Linked DNA regions of Homo sapiens: region 1 is linked to region 2. Evidence: promoter capture Hi-C in human tissues and cell types (Jung and others, 2019). All regions are on one chromosome and are shown on one strand. Each heading gives the region's core, a stretch centred on a gene start or on the middle of the fragment in contact. The rest is flanking DNA. Distances are from core to core; before and after follow the strand shown. Region 1 overlaps TMCC1 (transmembrane and coiled-coil domain family 1). Region 2 holds the start of EFCC1 (EF-hand and coiled-coil domain containing 1).

Region 1 (7,208 bases), core at 2,914-5,413, 730 kb after region 2:
TACATAAATCAACAGTTTACATGAAGCGGACCAAATTCTCAAACAACAAACTACCAGAATCACCTAAGATGAAATAGATAAACTGAATGGTTATATAACAGTTTTTAAAATGAAATTTTGTAATTAAACATATTCTGAAAAAGAAATCTCCCTGTGGTTTCACTAAATTCTACCAAACATTCATTACAAATAAATCAATTCTATACAATCTGTTCCAGAAAGCAGAAGGAGGAACTCATTTTATGAAGCCAGCATTATCCAGGAATTAAACCCGGAGAAGATCTGTTAAAACAAAACAAGACAGCAGACCAATAGCCCTCATACTAGCAAATCAAACCTAGCAATGTATATGAAGAATAATATACCATAACCAAGCAGGGTTTGTATCAGGAATGCAATGCTGGTTCAATATTTGAAAACCAAGCAAGGTAAGCAACATTAGCCCAGAGAAGCAAAACCACATGATATCAATTTATACAGGAAAAGCATTTGAGAAAAGTCAACAGCCACTCATTATTAAACTCTTAGCCAATTAGGCTGGACGCGGTGGCTCACACCTGTAATCTCAGCACTTTGGGAGGCCAAGGTGGAGAGATCACATGAGGCCAGGAGTTTGAGACCAGTCTAGCCAACATGGTGAAACCCTGTCTCTACTAAAAATACAAAAATTAGCTAGACATCGTGATGCATGCCTGTAATCCCAGCTACTTGGGAGACTGAGGCACAAGAATCACTTGAACCCAGGAGGCAGAGGTTGCAGTTAACCGACATCGTGCCACTGCACTCCAGTCTGGGTGACAGAGTGAGACTCCGTCTCTAAATAAATAAATAAATAAGAACTCTTAGCAAATTAGGAATAGAGGGGAACTTCATCATTTTTTTTTTTTTAAACAGGCGTGAGCCACCGTGCCTGGCCCAAAATTTTTTTACACAGCAGCTAATTTCATACTTACTGGCTCAAGCCATCCTCCCACCTCAGCCTCCCAAGGAGCTGAGACTACAGGTGTCAGCCCCCAAGCCCGGCTAGTTTTTCGTATTTTTTTTGGTAGAGACAGGGTTTTGCCATGCTGCCCAGGCTGGTCTTGAACTCCTGAGCTTAAACGATTCACCTGCCTCAGCCTCCCAAAGGTCTGGGATTACAGGTGTGAGCCACTGTGCCTGGCTTCCCATATGTTTTAAAGAATCTCTAGATTTATAATACCCAATGCAATGCCTACACATCACTTCATTCACATGGATTCAACATAGTATTTCATGTGTGGCAAATTCAAATTTTGCTTTTTGGAACTTTTTGAAATTTTTTTTCTAAATATTTTGTGTAGACTGGCATAGTATGTTGCAACCTTGCTAACCTCACTTAGTTCTAGGAGTATTCTGTGGATTCCTTGGTTTTCTACATATACAGTGATGTAGCCAGTGAATAGAAATTGTTTTACTTCTTTCTTTCCAATTTGTATGTCTTTTATTTCCTTTTCTTGATTTATTTTACTGGCGAGAACTTCAATACCAATAGAAATTGCCAGAGAGGACATCCTTGCACTGTTCCCCAGCCAGAACTCCAATGTCAGTTAAGTTTTCAAAGTCTTTGCAGTGCTTTTTGGATCTGTCCCACAGATGCACCACCCACCCTGTTGCCAGTCTGGGACTTGGCAATGGTCTAACCCCTACTTCATTTCTCAAAGTCTAGGTATACTGTTTGGGGTCAGATTTCTGCATGCAGACTGCATGAATAAGCTCAAAAATTCATAATAAAATTTAAAGAGTTTATTTTCAAATATCTTATAATCTCCCAGTACTTTCTAGGTCAATGGGATTCCCCTTTCTCATTACCTAGTCAGAAAGCTGGTATGTTATTTACTCTGCTCAGCCATACAATTTCCATAATAGTGCCTTTGTTTGGAAGCAAGCAGATGAAGGAGAGAGAAAAAAAGCAATTGAGACTCATTCCACCCTCTTGTAACCACAGCTCCACTGATCTGAGAATGGTTCCCTAAAATCAGAGTTTTAAGCTCTTGCTAGACCCCAATCTGCTGTCACTGCAGGACTGCTTGAGGTTCATGGTGCAAGAGAACAGAGGAAAGAAAAAGGAAAAAAGAAAAAGTTTCTGTACTTTCTATTAGTATTACAATATCGCCTTCCCATTCTTTGAACCAGAACTGAAGGCTTCTCCTAGAGTTCTCTTATCCACATTAATGTCCACTTAGGGGTTTTAGGCTGTGTTGATTTGAAGCCTGAGGATATGAGAGAGGTGAGAATGATAAATTAAACCCTGGTTCAACAGTACTTCAAAATCTGCTCCTTCTTAGTGCAACTTTTAAGATACGTCTTTTGGAGTCCTCAAATAGTTGCTCTAGGCCAGGTGTTTTAGCTGAGTTCAGTAGAAAAGACAGGTGAAATGTGTTTGCTCCATCTTACCCATAACAGGCATCTTAAGCCACGAAGTTCTGAGGTGAACTGTTACACAGAAATAGATAACTGGAGTACAATCCAACTCAAGAAGCAATCATTCAAGTGTGGTGTACATGAAACAACACAGCCTTTATGCATCTTCTCTAGAAAAGTCACCAGATAATTATAAAACAGATGCTATCAGTTCAATGGCAGACTATTCTCTGCTTTCTTACCTTGGCTTCTAAGAAACAGATTCAATAGTTTCATTATTGGAGTAATCAAAGTGATAGCAGTAAAAACCATGGAAGCCTCTTAGTAGATGTGGGTTTATTCTGCTGTCAGGTATAATTTGTCAGTAAGGGTTTGGACATTTCATTCTTTCATGCCCTGACTGGTATCAGTCAGAATTAAGAGAATCATTGGAGGAAAAGGGAACAACGAGGAAAAATTTGGAAAGTGGAAATGCCCTAAGGGAAAAAATTTTCCCCAAAGTTATTCTTGTATAGAATTCCTAAAACAAGGTTTTAGTTTTGCGGTCTTGAAAACAGAGTATTTCACCAGCAAGCAGCATTTCATTCAGAATAGCCTACCAACCTGTTTGTATAATTAAGCACTAATATTTCCTGAATTAAAATATCTAGGATGTCAATCAGCTCCACTAGCTATCATAAGCTTTGCCCAACATAAACAAATCACTACACAGAAAGAAACTGTGTAGATAGCACCATTTCACATCCACGAACAGGCAAAAATTTTAAGTGTTTGTGAAGATGCAGGTCAATGGGAACTTTCACACACTACTGATAGGAATAAGTTAGCATAATCACTCTGGATAGCAATTTAGCAATATCTAGTTAAACAGAAGATGAATATACTGTATAACCCAGTAAATCCATTCCTAGGAATTACTAGATAAATTAGTATATACTAGAGAAACTCCATATATTTGCATAAGAAGACATGTTCAAGAGTATTCACTGTAGCACTGTTTATGAAACAATGAAATATTGAAAACTGTATGTCCATTAACAGGAGAATCAACTTACAAACTGGTATATTCATAAAACAGAATACTATACAACAAGTAGATCAGAACTATATGTTATCAGTGTAAATAATTTCAAAAGCATGATATCAAGTGAAAAGAGTAAAGAAATTTTGCGTATACAGACTTGCATAACATGTAGAAGAGAATCATTTACATAAAATTTAAAATCATGTAAAACAAAACTATATGTTTTTTTATGGACAGATGTACATGCAATACAAGTACATAGACATATTTGTTATTTGAGAGGCTGAGGTGGGCAGACTGCTTAAGCTCAGGAGTTTGACATCAGCCTGGGCAACATGGAGAAACCCCGTCACTACAAACAATATAAAAATTAGCTGGGCTTGGTGCTGGTGCCTGTAGTCCCAGCTACTTGAGGCTGAGGTGGGAGGATTGCTTGAGCCCAGAAGGCAGAGGCTGCAGTGAGCTGTGATTGCATCACTGCACTCCAGCATGGGTGACAGAGGGAGATTCTGTCTCAAAAAACACAAAAGAATAAAACACATATGTTAATGAAAAACACTAAATTCAGGATAGTACTTGTCTCTGAAGAAGCGGAATGGATTGAGGAATGGTACACAAAAAAATGAAAGTACCAAGTTTGAAAAGCTTGGTAATTGTGCTTGAGTGTTTGTTGTTATTCTCTTTTTCATTTTTCTTGCATACAGCCACCCATTAATCTCTTTATTTTTCTGTTCGAAATTTTTTTTTTTTTTTTGAGATGGAGTCTCGCCCTGTCACCCAGGCTGGAGTGCAGTGGCGTGATCTCGGCTCACTGCAAGCTCCGTCTCCGGGTTCATGCTGTTCTCCTGCCTCAGCCTCCCAAGCAGCTGGGACTACAGGCGCCCGCCACCACGCCCGGCTAATTTTTTACATTTTTAGCAGAGATGGGGTTTCACTGTGTTAGCCAGGCTGGTCTCTATCTCCTGACCTCATGACCCGCCCGCCTTGGCCTCCCAAAGTGTTGGGATTACAGGCGTGAGCCACTGCACCCAGCCTCTGTTTGAAATATTTTATAACACAAAAATCAGAAAGAAAAAAACTATGAGAACATATATACATTACATTGTTAACATTCAAATGTTTAATGAAAGAATATTCTAACAATATGTTAGCTAAACACACTTCGCCAAAAAAGTGTGTTTAAGCAAGCTAAAAGGGGCCAGGTGTGATGGCTCACTCCTGTAATCCCAGCACTTTGGGAGCTGAGGCAGGAGGATTGCTTGAGGCAAGAGTTTGAGACCAGCCTTGGCAACACAGTGAGATCCTGTCTCCACAAAAAAGGAAAAAGAAAAAAATAGCCAGGTGTTGTGGCACGCACCTGTAGTCCTAGCTACTTGGGAGGCTGAGGCGGGAGGATCTCTTGAGCCCAGGAGTTCAAGGCTGCTGTGAACTATGATTGTGCCACTGCACTCCAGCCTGGGCGACAGAGCCAAGACTCTCTTAAAAAAAAAAAAAAAAGCAAAGAGAACCAGGGATTATGAAGATTTAATACGTTTCAAAAGTGCATGTAAGAGAGCAAGTGAAAAACAGGTTAGCTTCTGTTATATCCTAAGTAAAGGTCTCATGACTCAAGACAGTAAGGAGAGGAGCAGCCTCTATGAGCTCTCTTGCTTTCCCCACCATCATCTGCTACAATACAGTACAGCAGGTTATTTGGCACATCTTGCAGCCTGGCAGTGATTTCGTTCAAAGCTGCGAACATGGTAGAAGCCTGCTGACCTTCTGGGGGGACTCCTGGAACATCAGAGAAAGAAAAGTCTACATGGAGTAGAGCCGAAAGACCTGCTCTTATCTGTAGACCTTAAGTAATGTACTTTGGCCAGAGTAGAAAGGGGAGTTTTACTCATTCTATACCCTCTTCTGGCTCTCATATGACTTGCTGGGTAAGAAAGTAGAGAATTTGTTTTTTTGATCTTACAAATGACCCAAAAATCTGCTGGGTCACCTGAGTTAAGGCTGTGGATCTCGTGCAGGGATTGTGAGGAGGATGAGCAAGTGATCACCATGTTCACTTGGTATCTACTGGCACAAATGCCAAACTATCAATTCTACTGACTCATCTGCATCTGCAACTGGCAGGACATACCTGTATCCCGTGCAGAGCCTGCCAGAATGCTACACTGTAGAGTCACTCAGGATAGTGAAAACTGTGGCAATAATTTTATCACACAATTGTTTAATACTTTAGTTACTTATCCCTTTATGTTAGTTGTACAATGTTAGGCAAAAACAAGTCTAGGCCATTTAATAATTGTGATGAAACTTCTCCTTTAAAAAAATGAAGGCTGGACTAGTAATGACAATTATTATTTTCTTTTCTTTTTTTTTTTTTTTGAGATGGAGTCTAGCTCTGCTGCCCAGGCTGGAATGCAATGGCACAATCTCGGCTCACTGCCACCCCCACCTCCCAGGTTCAAGTGATTCTCCTGTCTCAGCCTCCTGAGTAGCTGGGATCACAGGCGCCCGCCACCACGCCCAGCTAATTTTTGTAATTTTAGTAGAGACAGGGTTTCACTGTGTTGGTCAGGCTGGTCTCGAACTCCTGACCTCATGATCCACCTGGCTCAGCCTCCCAAAGTGCTGGGATTACAAGCGTGAGCCACTGCGCCCGGCCGCAATTATTCAAGTATGAGTACCCTTTCTCTAACTTTTAATTATAAAAAATTTCAAATATACTGGAAAAAAAACCAGAAAAGATGTTATAATAAACAGCCATATACCTACCACCCATACTCAACAACTGTTAACCTTTTGCCATATTTGCTTCACTTTCACACATATGCAAACCTAAACCACTTAAAGTAAATTACATATGATCCTCCACACTGCTATGATCTGCATGTCTCCCCAAAATTCATATGTTGGAACCTAATACCCAATGTGATAGTGTTAAAAGGTGGGGCTTTTGGAAAGTGATTAAGTCATAAGGGCTTCACCCTCATGAATGTGACTGCTGCCTTATAAAAGAGGCTAGAGGGGGGCCGGGCGTGGTGGCTCACACCTGTAATCCCAGCACTTTGGGAGGCTGAGGTGGGCGAATCACCTGAGGTCAGGAGTTCAAGACCAGAGACCAGTCTGGTCTGGCCAACATGGCAAAACCCCATCTCTACGAAAAAAATACAAAGATTAGCTGGGCGTGGTGGCACACACCTGTAATCGCAGCTACTCAGGAGACTGAAACAGAGAATTGCTTGAACCCAGGAAGCGGAGGTTGTAGTGAGCCGAGATCACGCCGCTGCACTCCAGCCTGGGCAACACAGCAAGCCTCCATCTCAGAAAAAAAAAAAAAGAGGCTTGACGGAATTCTCTTGCCCCTTTCACCATGTGATGATGCAGCAAGAAGGTGACATCTATCTATGAGAAATAGGCCTTCACCAGACACCAAATCTGCTGGCACCTTGAACTTGGACTTCCCAGTTTCCAGAACTGTGAGAAATAAATTTCTGTTGTTTTTAAACTACCCAGTCTAGCGCATTTTGTTATAGTAGCCCTACAAACTAAGACACACACCCCAAAATACTTCAGCACATATCTCCAAAATTTAAAGCCATTCTCCTAAATAACTACAATGCCATTCTCACACCTACTAAATTTACCATAATTTCTTGATATCATCTAATATTCAATGATATTAAAAAGTTGACCACTTAAAATAGTTCCACTGTAACCAAGGATCTAAGTGCACAGGCTAGAAACCATTGGCCTATGAGTCACATGTCTTAGGGCAGAAATAATATATATAAACTCCAGAACTATACTTCTT
Region 2 (7,109 bases), core at 2,453-4,952:
GTTTCCAAGGTTTATTTATGTTGAGGCATGTGTCAGTATTTCATTCCTTTTCATGACTGAATAATATTCTATTGTATGGACAGACCACAGTTTGCCTATCCATTCATCAGTTAATGGGCATTTGGCTTGGGCATTTAGACATTTATGAACAACGTTGCTATGAACATTCCCACACAAGTCTTTGTGTGGATGTGTTTTCATCTCTCTTGGGTCGATATCTAGGAGTGGAAGAGTTGGGTCGTATGGTCATTTTGTGATTAACTTCTTGAGAAACTGCCAAACTATCTTCCACAGGGGCTGCATCATTTTGTGTTCCCATCAACAACATGAAGTTTCCTGTTTCTCCAAATTCTTGACAAGATTTATTGCCTGTTTTATTCACTACAGCTATTCTCATGAGTATAATATAGTATTTCATCATAGTTTTCATGTGCATTTCCCTAACAAGAATACTGAGATTGTTTTATGCACATGTTGGCTATTTATACAACTTCTTTGGTGAAATGTCTGTTTGTATCTTCACCCACTTTTTGATTGGATTGTTTGTCTTCTTGTTACTGAGTTGTTAAGAGTTCATTGTAAATTCGGAATATAAGTCCTTTACTGGGCATATGTTTTACAAATATTTTCTCCTAGTCTCTTGTTCGTCATATTTTCTTAATAGTGTCTTTTGAAGTGCAAATGTTTTGAACTTTGATGAAGGTCCGATTCATCATTTTTTTCTTTTTTGGATCATGCATTTGGTGTCGTATCTAAGAAATCTTTGACTAACAACAGGCCTATTTTTAATAGAAGTAAAGCTTGGTGTCTGAACACTAAGCAAATCTACTAACCAAGACCCCTAAAAACCCAAAAGCTTTATGACACTGAAAATAATGGCCCAAGGACATTCCCAGACAGTTCTGGGCTCTGGATAGAACAACACAAGTTTCCAAAAAACAGGCTGATAATACCACAAGCTTATAAAATATGTATACTCCTTGGCCCAGTAATAAATCACTCAAGATATGGCACAAACTGTTCACAGTATGGTTTTTGCGGAGAAAAGCTGAAAACCACCTCAGTGGGCATCTGTGGGGGATGACAAAGCACCTTATAGTTCATCCCCAGGGAGCACAGAGCAGCCTCTGGAGCAGTGTCTGCAAAGAAACCACAGCCAAGCTGTTTACAAAGCTCAGTTCCTGTGCAAAGAAAGATCCCAATGGCGCCCTTTCCACTGTGCTTTTCATGTCAAGTTGAATGAGCTACGATTTGCACACTGTAAAATTCAGATGTACACAGTCATGCAACCACTACACCATGAAGATAGAGTATTTCAATCACTCCAAAAAGTTCTTTCATGCCCAAATACATAGAAAAGTCTGGAAATAAATACATCAGAAATACACAGTGATCCTCTCTTGGTGGCAGAATGGTGGATGATTTTTGCTTTTTAGCATTTTCCCGGACCTTTAAAAGACACTTTAAACAATATACTATTTGAAATGGCTCAAACAATACTGAACTGACTTCAGAAAATCATTTCTTTGCCACAGCCCTGACTCTCTCCCACACAGACACACGCCCATCCCCCCAGCTCATACAAAAGAACGCAAGGAGACCTCTGAGTTTGCTCACTTTGAACCTTAAACAAAAACCTTGTGGATGCAACCAGAATTATTTCAGAGGTGCCTGGTAACACCGCAGGGCAGACAGACAGGCCTGACAGCAAACCATTATCAACCCTTACTTCCCTGAGCTGTAGGGGAGTGGAGGCCGGCAACGGCTCCCAGCAAGACATTTAAAAGCTTTCTTTTCAATATTGACTGGCCCAGGAAAGCTACTGTTCAAAGGATTCCTTCACCAGCTGCAGGGATGGGGGGTGGGGAGGGTGTTGCACTCTTGCCTGGGCTACCAGCTCTTAGGGCTGACATGAAATAAAATCAGGTTCTTTTTTTTTTTTTTTTTTTTTTTTTGAGACGGAGTCTCGCTCTGTCGCCCAGGCTGGAGTGCAATGGCAGGATCTCAGCTTACTGCAACCTCCGCCTCCCAGGTTCAAGCGATTCATCTGCCTCAGCCTCCCAAGTAACTGGGATTACAGGCGCCTGCCACCACGCCCAGCTAACTTTTGGTATTTTTAGTAGAGATGGGGGTGGTTCACTATGTTGTCCAGGCTGTTCTCGAACTCTTGACCTCAGGCAATCCACCCGCCTCGGCCTCCCAAAGTGGTGGGATTACAGGCGTGAGCCACCGCGACCGGCCAAGAAAAAGAAACACATGAGAACATCTTAACAAAAGGGAAATACTGCAGTGTCTCCCATCTGCAGAAAGAACCACTGAATCCACTTATGAATCCCTCCATCTTCTTCTGTGCACTCACATACACATGTCCTAGTAGAAAATACTTAGTATTGTTTTGTGTGTTTTTGTTCTTGTTATGTAAGCATCAGTGTTGTGCATAATCAGCTTGTGGCTTGCTGTGTCCGCTCATCCTCGTTTGCTGAGTCCTAGCTGATTTGATGGACACCAGGTTGTCTCCAGTTTCTCACTGTAATAAACAATGATGCAGTGAACATCCTGTGCACAGTGGCTTTCGAAGGTAGAAGCCAAGAAGTGGACGTGATGTAAAAACTTTGTCAAATTGCCATTACTTTTATAATTAAAAACAAACCTAAAAGAATATGTCCAAAATGCTTGGGGAGAAGCCTCTAACTCCTTCCCAGCAGATATGTACTCTGGGCAAAGCCTTCAAGAACAAGTACGAATTTGCCAAATGGACAACGTGCTGATTCTGGGATACTGTGGCAGAGGAGACAGAATGCTATCGCTTTTCAAACGGCAAGATTTTACATTTAAACTCACAGAGTTATCCACAAGGCAAGATTCTGTCTCTGTCATAGCTAGGAACAGCTGAAGAGTCTGCCTCTTGCTCCAACATGGCTGGGTACCGTGGCTGGATAACCGTTCCCGGTGCAGGTAACAGGTGGACAATATCACAATATCACTGCACCCCTCTCGTGAAAAAGAAAGGGAACACAGTCTAGCACTCACCAGAGAAGCAGGTTTTTCTTCATCTTCCAGAAATGTGTTCTAAAACACCAGAAAAAAACATCAGCCAATCATCGACCTGTTAACCTAACCCCAGCTCAAGAGATGGAACTCGGATCCCATTGCCAAGTCAGCACCGGCAGGCACAAAGGTGGCAGGGCCGGGAGACACCACTTTCCCGAGAGTCCTATCCCCACCCCCAACAGGGATCGGGAGAGAGCAGTTAGCACAGGGCTCGTCTCAGATGGGCTTCTCACCAGCGGGGTGCCCCTAACCTAGACCCCTTGCCTCTCCAAGCCTGTTTCCCTCTCTTTCCCAGTTACTACTTGGGGCTCTTTGCACGGTCTATGGTGGCACAAGAAGTGGGTTCGGAAACCCAGTAGCTGAATTGAAGCGGAGGGGAGGCTTTTCCGCACCTACGGCTACAGGGCGGCGAGAGCAGGCTTGCCAGGCAACCCTCGAAAGGCCTTCCGGGAAGAGGGGGAAGAGTGACGCTTGGGTGTGGGGGCACATCCCCAGCAACCGGACGAGGCCGCCACCCCCAAGGCCCTCCTGGGCTTCGGATCCCGCGCCAACCCCTCGCCCAGGTCTCGGAGCGAACTCTCCGCGCCAGGCGGGCGGGGCGGAGGGAGGAGGGAGTTGAGAGTGGACGGCCGGGAGTGGGAGGAAAAGCGCAGACGCCAGGAACGCCCCGTGAGTGAGGAGAGGAGAGCGTGGGAGTCACGCGGAGAAGCCAGACCCAGACGCCGACCGGGCACTGGTGGCGCTGCCGGGGTCCCGGGGGTTCCTGGACCCCCTACCCCAGGCCCCTCCAAAGCAACTGGGGTAAACCAGACGCACTGTGAGGCCAGCGCAGCTGCTGGACACGGTCCCCGGCGCCGCTCCAACCAGACCGCGACCGCTAAGCCCCTCCTTTCGAGAAACTCTGGGGCCGCCCCTGGAAGTGGCGGGGCGAAGGGACCGGAGGAGGGACCGGAGGAGCGAGGCGCGCGGCGCAGCGATGGAGCCGGTCAGCACGGGCGCGGAGGCCGGCATGGAGGGCGCGGGAGGTGACCCGTACCGGCGACCTGCGCGGCGCACGCAGTGGCTGCTGAGCGCCCTGGCGCACCACTACGGGCTGGACCGCGGCGTGGAGAACGAGATCGTGGTGCTGGCCACCGGCCTGGACCAGTACCTGCAGGAGGTCTTCCACCACCTGGACTGCCGCGGCGCCGGCCGTCTGCCCCGCGCCGACTTCCGAGCGCTCTGCGCTGTGCTGGGGCTGCGCGCGGAGGGGGCCACCACGGCCGGGCAGGCAGCAGGTGACGGGAACTCCAGAGATGTGACCCCCGGGGATGCGGCCGCTGAGTTGGCCACGGACGGGGACTCAGATACCGATGAAGAGGCGCGCCTGGCGCTGCGCGCCGAGCCGCCGGAGCTCACCTTCCGCCAGTTCCACGCGCGCCTCTGTGGCTACTTCGGCACCCGTGCGGGGCCCCGGCTGCCCCGCGGCGCTCTCAGCGAGCACATCGAGACGCAGATCCGCCTGCGCCGTCCGCGCCGCCGCCGCCGCCCGCCCTGCGCGCCTGGCCCCGACAGCGGTCCTGACTGTGAGCGCGTTGCGCGGCTGGAGGAGGAGAATAGCAGCTTGCGCGAGTTGGTGGAGGACCTGCGCGCCGCGCTGCAGAGCAGTGATGCGCGCTGCCTAGCACTGCAGGTGCGCGCCGGCCACGAAGGGAGGGTGGTAACGCCCGGGAGAGGGCTCGAACTAAAAGCTGGCTGGCTGCGGAGCCCGACAGGACAGAGTCAGAGGAAGGGGAGACAGAGGGCAGCCCCACACCATCCCACTCCGCATCAGCACACTTGCATCTTGCCCCTGTTCCTCCCCATTCCACTCCAGTCCCCAACCCTATTCTTACCACCTATTCCATTCCTGAAAACCCCAATCACACTCAAACAACCATACCCCACTTTTCTGCTCCACCGCCACATCATCGCGTCTTGCCCCTTTAACCTAGGAATTGCACCTGTCTGGGTAGTCTCACATATTCCCTTTCAACAAGCATCTTTCTCTCTCCTTCCTGCCAGGCTTCTGGGAGGTTTAGGAGACAGAAGTGTGAAGAAGGCCCTGTCCTCACCTTTAGGGATATCCCTGCCTCCTGGGGTAGACTGACAGCTCCTTCTGTCAATCAGCAAAGACTTATGGGGCTCCCTGTGGGAGAAACAGAGACAAGTGAGAAACAGACAATGTGGCTCACACTGTGGATCAGGCACTCACGGGCCACCAAGTGCCTGCGGGAACCAGACCCGCTCTGGGCTATTGAGAAGAAACCATGGGGTGAGATAGGGACCCAGCCTTAGCATCTGGGAGCCGTCGACAAACACTTAAGCACTGTGCCAGCCGAGCACCAAGGGCAGTGCTGGGCCGCAGGGGTCAGAGGAGGAAAGGAACAGCCCCTACCCCAGGCGACAACAGGCCAGGAAGAAACTGACATTATATGACCCCGCCTTAGCTCAGGACACTGCAGAGTGCAGGGAAGTGGCAAGGTGTGGTTTTCAGTGTCAGTGTGCATGGAAGCCAGGGTGGAGGCGGGAAACTACTCCTCTGATGTGGAATCCCAAGTAACGTACTGGGAGCCATGGGATGCGCCTGAACGGTCTTCCGGCATCTCTCATGCTTGGTATTTATTGAGCACCTACTATGTGCCAGGTTTGTTTTAGGCTCTGGGAACACACCAGTAAAGACAGATAGAAACCACCCTCAAAAGCCTCTAGTGAGCAGGCACGGGGAGGGCTGGAAATGCCACTGGGGGGAGTCTAGGAGATGAGGAACCGCCACCCGGCAGGCTGAACGCCGCCAATACAGTAGGCCGAGAAGAGTCGCGAGGTTGGTACTATAGAGGGAACAGAATACAGGCGTCGTGTCTCAGTTTCCTTCAGTGAAAAAACGTTGGGGGGTGGGGGATGAGGAGGAATCAGAGCTTGGGCCTCCCTGGGGATGTGGCGAGGGTTAAAGGAGCTTGGACGCACCGGACCTAAGGGCCTGGCACCCGGAAGCAGACGGCGCAAGAAACGTGCTCAAGCGCTTCTGGGTGCAGAGGCATGGGGCCGCCGTCGTGGCGGGCGTTCGTCTGGTGCATCTGGCTGGGGCACTTACCCCCTGCCCCTGCTGCCCTGTCCCCGCAGGTCGGACTCTGGAAGAGCCAGGCGAGCACCCACGAGATGGGGCACGGCGGGCCGGAGGCTGCGGTGCGGGAGCTGCGTCAGGCGCAGGGCGCCCTGGCTGCGGCGGAGGCCCGCGCTGGGCGGCTGCGCCGTGGCCAGGCCGAGGTGCGGCGGCGCGCGGAGGAGGCCCGGCAGGTGGTGCTGCGCAGCCTGCACCGCGTGCGAGAGCTGGAGGCGCTGGCGCAACAGGTGCCCGGCTTGCAGCGCTGGGTGCGGCGGCTGGAGGCGGAGCTGCAACGCTACAGGTGAGCGGGGGCGCGTGCCCTGGGCCCAAGTTCCCCAATTCGGCTCCCATTTTCCCAAACTTCGGGTGTGCAATCCCCCTCCCACGCGCTCTCGTGTTCCGCAGTTTCTCCATGCGTTTATTCATGTATTCTTTCATTCCTTTGTCAGTTCTCCATTTCTTAAGTTATAAGTCTGCTCCATTGCTTGCTCTGCAACCATCTGCCCACCCATCCATTTATCCATCCATCTGTCCATCCATTCACCCACCCCACACACCCACCCATCCATCCATCCATTTGTCCATTCACTCACCCCCCCCACCCACCCATCCATCCACTCACCCATCCATCCACTCACCCATTCATCCATCCACCTATCCACTCACCTACCCACCCGTCCATCCATCTATTCATCCATCCACTCACTCACCCACCCATCCACTCACCCACCCACCCATCCATCATCCATCCATCCCCCCACCCACCCAGCCAGCCAGCCGTCCATCCATCCTCCTGTTCATCCACAAACACCCTCTATTTGTTTATCATAGATTGCAGTTGAATGTGCTCATTCTTATTTGTTCCTGGATTCGATCATAATGATAATAGCTTACAGTTACTAAGCACTCGCTGTTTGCCAGGCCTTGAGCTAAG

What was found. The method cuts DNA at HindIII sites, captures the fragments that hold promoters and counts their contacts. A contact is called where the count stands out against the background at its distance.
Region 1: a fragment that was not itself captured here is called in contact with the fragment with the promoter of EFCC1 in region 2 in 2 of the 25 tissues and cell types used here (aorta and psoas muscle).

The regions. Positions count from the first base shown.
Region 1 is chr3:129,730,761-129,737,968 of GRCh38, forward strand. All of the region lies in intron 4 of TMCC1 (transmembrane and coiled-coil domain family 1), which reads right to left. Among named protein-coding and RNA genes, the nearest start is that of PLXND1, 130 kb to the left of the region's middle. RefSeq lists an enhancer at 4,229-4,729. The HindIII fragment of the contact is 5,355 bases long and covers 1,487-6,841 here.
Region 2 is chr3:128,997,602-129,004,710 of GRCh38, forward strand. EFCC1 (EF-hand and coiled-coil domain containing 1) reads left to right here and starts at 3,703. Exons shown (of 8, transcript NM_001377500.1): 1 at 3,703-4,723; 2 at 6,193-6,476. The coding sequence starts at 4,028. It also overlaps a transcript of CFAP92 not described here. The HindIII fragment of the contact is 14,506 bases long and covers 1,374-7,109 here.